2 separate regions of the Homo sapiens genome follow, and region 2 is linked to region 1. The links are contacts of gene promoters, found by promoter capture Hi-C in blood cells and fetal thymus (Javierre and others, 2016). All regions are on one chromosome and are shown on one strand. The core of a region is centred on a gene start or on the middle of the fragment in contact, and the rest is flanking DNA. Distances in the headings are between cores, read along the strand shown.

The links. Contacts are between HindIII fragments. The CHiCAGO score rates a contact against its expected background, and 5 or more counts as called.
Region 2: a contact is called between the fragment with the promoter of CPA5 here and a fragment that was not itself captured in region 1, in 1 of 17 cell types (total CD4 T cells). The highest score is 5.3, in total CD4 T cells.

What each region holds. Positions count from the first base shown.
Region 1 is chr7:130,698,722-130,701,613 of GRCh38, forward strand. No RefSeq gene overlaps it. Among named protein-coding and RNA genes, the nearest start is that of TSGA13, 14 kb to the left of the region's middle. The HindIII fragment of the contact is 1,578 bases long and covers 824-2,401 here.
Region 2 is chr7:130,343,226-130,346,072 of GRCh38, forward strand. CPA5 (carboxypeptidase A5) reads left to right here and starts at 1,591. Exons shown (of 13, transcript NM_080385.5): 1 at 1,591-1,980; 2 at 2,614-2,671. All of the region lies in intron 1 of LOC105375503 (a long non-coding RNA gene), which reads right to left. LOC124901837 (small nucleolar RNA U13) reads left to right here and starts at 1,190; the gene lies at 1,190-1,293. RefSeq lists an enhancer at 2,783-2,847. The HindIII fragment of the contact is 13,267 bases long and covers 1-2,847 here.

The DNA.
Region 1 (2,892 bases), core at 363-2,862:
ACAAGAGGGCCAATTATAGCAGGTTGGAGATGTCCAAGTAAATCTAGGAGGTATTGGGTTACTTTGGCTGGGATTAAAAAATACCAGAAACCATTCGCTTTCATCTGGCAGGGACAACAATACATCTTTACCATTTTGCGGCAAGTGTGTCAGATATTTGCCCATTATTTTTCTGTACTCTGCACTAGGACACTGTGACTAGACACTGCAAACTTCACATTCCAGAGCCCCTTGCTAGCTAGCTTCTGCCAATTGGAGGCACTTCCAAAAACCATAAAGTGGAGGAGGTAAGAAGTAGTGTCTTCCAGTTTCCAGTTCTAGTTTGCTTACTCTCCAGCTACAGCAGACAGCTATGATTTGATTCCAGCCTTCAGCTTGTTATTCCCAGCAATATTCTCACTATGCCCCATCAAGATACTAGTAGCAGCCAAGCCCATCATTCACTTTTATCCATTTGGCCATAGCCCCTTGAGTGGTGCAGCCTACACTTCCTCAGCAGTCTAAGCACTAGAAGTAAAGTATCCTCTTCTGTATGTTCTGGTAATATCACTTCTTCCATTTTGTTCCCCCAGGTCTAAGGTGGTACCTTCTAAAGAGATTAATCTGTGGGTTGCCTCAACCTCTCATTTTTGCTTGTTTGGTGTTCCAATACCTGCGTAATCAATTCCCTTTATTAACTACCCTTTGTTTGAAATATCTAGTGTGGTTTACGTTCTTATGATTAGACTCTGACTGATAGAAGAACCTTGATCCTCTCACCATTCCAAAGAAAATTATGCTGGTCCACTACAGAGAGGGCTAAGAAAGCAGGGAATATCCTAAAAGCTTTGGTAAAACTCATGAATGTCAGGAAGAAGAAAATCTGAGGGCTTTTACATTAATGCATCTTCTAGAGGGTCCAGTTTAGGAGTATACAGGTTATCTCCTCCTCAGTGGACTGGCCTGCCTTACAGTAAGAAAAATGTAAAATTTTTGGTGGCAACCAATGGCACATTTGGGTGTGTTACACTGACAAATCCAATAGGTGACTTTGAAAAACTGACAAATTTTAGTGGGACTTAAAGCAAGAAAAGTTCCTTCAGCTGGTTCAGGCTGCAAGCAAGCAGCTCTGTCACTTGGCTCTTATGATTCAGTAGATCCAATGATGCGAAAAGGTCGGGATGACGAAACCAGCCCATGTGACTCCTCAGTAGGTAGGATCACATTAGTGACCTGCAGCGTTCTGTGGAAAAAGCCACACCCTGTGGGCAACTAAATATTCTCCTTATGAACCTCATGTTATATTTTGGGGGAATATATGTCTAAAAAATAAAAATGCTGGGTCATAAGATATATTTGTTTAATATAATTTGTCTGAGAAATGTCAAATTGCTGCCTGTAATCTCAGCACTTTGGGAGGCCAAGGCTGGCAGATCACCTGAGGTCAGGAGTTGGAGACCAACCTGACCAACATGGAGTTGGAGACCAACCTGACCAACATGGCAAAACCCCATCTCTACTAAAAATACAAAAATTAGCCGGGTGTGGTGGCTCGCACCTGTAGTCCCAGCTACTCGTAAGGCTGAGGCAGGAGAATTGCTTGAACCCGGGAGGCGGAGGTTGCAGTGAACCAACAGAGTGCCACTGTACTCCAGCCTGGGCGACAGAGTGAGACTTTGTCTCAAAAAGAAAGAAAGAAAGAAATGCCAAATTGCACTCCACAATGGCTGCCTCTTTTAAATATCTGCTTTGAAGGATTGCCCTTGGGCTACTGGAGCCACTTATCCCAGAGAATAGGAAGTGTCTGGGAGATTAGGTACCCCCAGTACATCTGTAGTCAATGGACCACTGCAGTATAAGGATGAAAGCCCAGCTCCTTTGCCTTAGACTCTTTCAGGCTGAGGCATAATTTCCTCTCCAGAACTCCCTTATAGGATCAGATTAAGGCTAGGACTCTGTCTGAAATACAGTACATCTTTCTTTAGTTTCTTCTATTTTTCTGTCCTTCATCCCCAACTTCCTTACCAGTTTATGCTGGGATGACTTTCTTAATAAGTTATTTGAAAATAAATCTATGTCTCAAGATTGGCTTTTGGCGAACATGAGCTAAGTCACATTGCCCCATCCACACTTAGTATCATTCAACTTTCTAATTCTTCCCTATTTCACTGTTGTTTCAATTTGCATTTCTTTGATTATTAATGAGTTTAAACATTTCTTCATATTTATCAACTTTTGGTTCCTTATTTAAATGCTGATTCATATCTTTTGCCTATTATTTTAATGAAGTTGCTGACATTTTCTTGTGAATTTGCAAGATTTTGTTATATATTCTAGATATCAACCCATAGTCAGCTTTAAATGGTATGAATAATTTTCTTTAATTCTATTAGCTGTCCATTAATTTTTTCCCTGGATAGAAAGCTTTTGTGTGTGTGTGTGTGCCTCCACCAAGATTTTTTAAATTAACTATTTTAAATTCAGTGACATTTAGTTCATTTGCAGCATTGTGCAACCACCGCATCTATCTAGTTTTGAAACATTTTCTTCACTCTAAAGTAAAACCTTTTGCACATTAAACAGTTTCTCCTCTTTCTCTCTAACCTGCCAGTACCTGGCAGCCACCAATCTGTGTTCTATCTTTATGAATTTATCTATTCTGGATATTTCATACAAATGGAATCATACAATATGTGATCTTTGGTGTCTGGCTTCTTTCACTTAGCTAATGTTTTAGAGGTTCATCCATGTTATAGCATGTATTAGGTACGGTACTTCATCCTTTTTTTTAATCACTGAAAAATATGCTTATGAATATACTGCAATTTGTTTATCCACTCTTCCACTGATAGACATTTGGGCTGTTTCCACCTTTTGACTATTATCAATAGTGCTGTTATGAACATGTGTGTA
Region 2 (2,847 bases), core at 341-2,840, 360 kb before region 1:
CTTTCTTTCTCTTTCCCTCTCTCCTTTCTTTTTTTTTCTGTCTGTCCTTCCTTCCTTCCTTCCTTCCTCGCTCCCTCCCTCTCTCCCTCCCTCCCTCTCTTCCTCCCTCCCTCCCTTCCTTATTTCTTTTCTTTTTCTTTTTTTCTTTTTTTTTTTTTTGAGATAGGTTTTTGTTCTGTCACCCAGGCTGGAGTATGGTTCTCTGCAGCCTCAAAGTCCTGGGCTCAGTTGATCTGCTTGCTTGCTTCCCGAGTAGCTAGGACTACAGATGCGTGCCTCACCATGCCCAGCTAATTTTATTTTATTTTTGCAGAGATAGGGTCTCCCTGACTTGCCCAGGCTGGTCTCGGACTCCTGGGCTCAAGCGAACTCCTGGGCTCCTCCTGCCTTGGCCTCCCAAAGCACTGGGATTACAGATGTGAGCTGCCATACCTGGCCAAAAATTTTCAAATAAGTAAAAACAGAAACCTTAACTAAAGGAAGGTTTGAAAAGATAGATTTGAAGCAGAGGGAAGATGATTCTAGATACATGGTACATGCATCCAGTAGGAAAATCAAGAACACCAGCATTCTGAGAAGTTCTCTGAGGCAAAACTTGCTTACCACTTGGGTGTCTGTCTGGCTTTTCCTTCTTTTTGGGATCTATAGATTCTTATTTTTGTGCCAACCCAGCAATGGCTTTAGAAAGTTGTTACTAAAAATATTTTCTTCTGCATTTGAGTTCTTTCATTTGGGCAAGATTGCTTAGGTATCTAACCCACCCCACCTGCAGGAAATAAAAGTCCTCCAAAAAAATTTCTAATTTAGGGAAACTCTCCTTCAGTCTATGTGGAGCCCATGTTCCCCGTCCTCATGGTACAATGTGCCTTTCCCTTGTAACACAAACACCATCTATAGTTTTACACTTATCTGGAGTGAGATGGGCTACCATTATGTCTTGGGTTTACCAATTATCTTCATGCTATTTAAATTAATTTTCTACTTACGCCTTTAGAAATGTAAGGGCCAGATATGTGTTGCTTTCTATTTTGTTTCCAGACTTTAGCAAGTGCCTGGAACATAGCAGGTATTCAGAGGACATTTACTGAGTAAATGATTAGGTGAGTAATTAATTATAAGTGAAAAGCCAAAATGAGGTATTAGGTCAAGCATAGCTATGTGTCTCCGCTTCAAATCCAGCCATAAGCTGATAATTGCAGTTCATAAGTATGATAATTGGGTGCTCACGCATGCGTGTGTGAGATGTGTCACCCTCAAACCTTGTTATGACGTCAGCACATTACCCGTCTAACATGAACTTAGAAGAAGCAAAACCAAAAACAAATCCAGCCATTGGAGATGGTGCTTTCAGGGTTGGTGAATTCCCAGAGAACTCTGCTGTCCAATATGGTAGCCATTAGCCACATGTGGCTATTTAAATTTTATTTAAATTAATTAAAGTTAAATACAACTCCAAAATCAATATTCAACCACAATAGCCACATTTCAAGAGGTTAGTGGCTATCCTACTGGGGGGTGTGGACATAGAATATTTCCATTATCACAGAAAGTTCTATTGGAAGCTATGTCATAGAATTCTCAAAACTTCCTAACTGCTTCTCTCTCTCTCTTTTACTCTTATTCTTTCTCTCTCACTCTCTCTCTTTTCCCACCCTTAAGCCAAGTACAGGGATAGTTGTCTCATCATTGGTGGCTTAAAATGATGTTTTTGAACAAGAAGACGCCCCATGGGTACTTTTGGTGACTAGCACTATCTCTGTTTTTTTCCTTTTAAATTCCTGAGCTATTGTTTAGCAGTACACCCTTTTATCTCCATTGCTACTGAAGCTGAATGTTACTTGGGTGGAAAGCATAACTGCTTTCTTTTCTATGTCCTTAAACCCTTTGATAATGTTACTGTTTGAGAGTCCCTGAAGCCAGGATACTAGAAGAGTCTGGCTTGTCTGAACAGCTGAACTACGAAATAATGGAGTAGGGCAGGTGGGTGGGGGAGCAGGGCGTTCTGTCGATAAACGAGCTCCCTTCTTTGCACACATAGCCAGTTAATCGGCCATTCTGAGATAGTTTGGATGGGGAGGGGGAGCTTCTGAGAATCGCCAGTGACAGTTAAGTGGCCTATTGTTGACGTCCTCTGCTGAACGACTTGGTTGGATTCAGCTTCTGCCTTACCCCCACCCCCTGTGGATTTTCTGTTAGATTCATCATTTGCCATTCAGGCATCATCTTTCACTTTCTCCTTCCAACATGACTGCTTTGTGTGCTGGCCCCTGCTTTACTCCTGCTATTCCCAAACTATAAAGGGAACTGTGTGGGGCTTCAGCAGGACTGAGAAATTGACTCTGCTGTCTGTTGAGAACTCTAATAATGACTGCGGTGACCTTCATGTCTAGCAGAAAACCCACTGTCTGTGCTAGCACAATGATGACCACCTGAAGACAGAGAAAAGGGAATCTTGATTGAATTCCTTCTCATACAATATATAGTTATTTCCTTTGTTCTCCTCTCCATTCTCTTCTCTTCCCCTTCTCCCCATCGCCACTGGAGGACTGATCTCAAATGCAGCTGTGACTAAAAGTTAATGCCTTTTGAATAATAATACATTGCATTTTGCAGGCTTTACCAAGCCAATTCACTCAAGTTGTCTCATCTATACCCCTTCAAACCCTGTGAGGTAGGGAGGGGAGGTATGATTAACCCCATTTGATGGATGAGTAAACTGAGATTTAGAGATTAGGGCAGCTGCCCCAGATATTTTAGACGGGAAGTGAGCACCCAGTCTCTGTCTCTAAGTCCAGCGGTGTTTCAATGGCATCCACACCTTATGTGTAAGGAGGATATGGCCCAGGG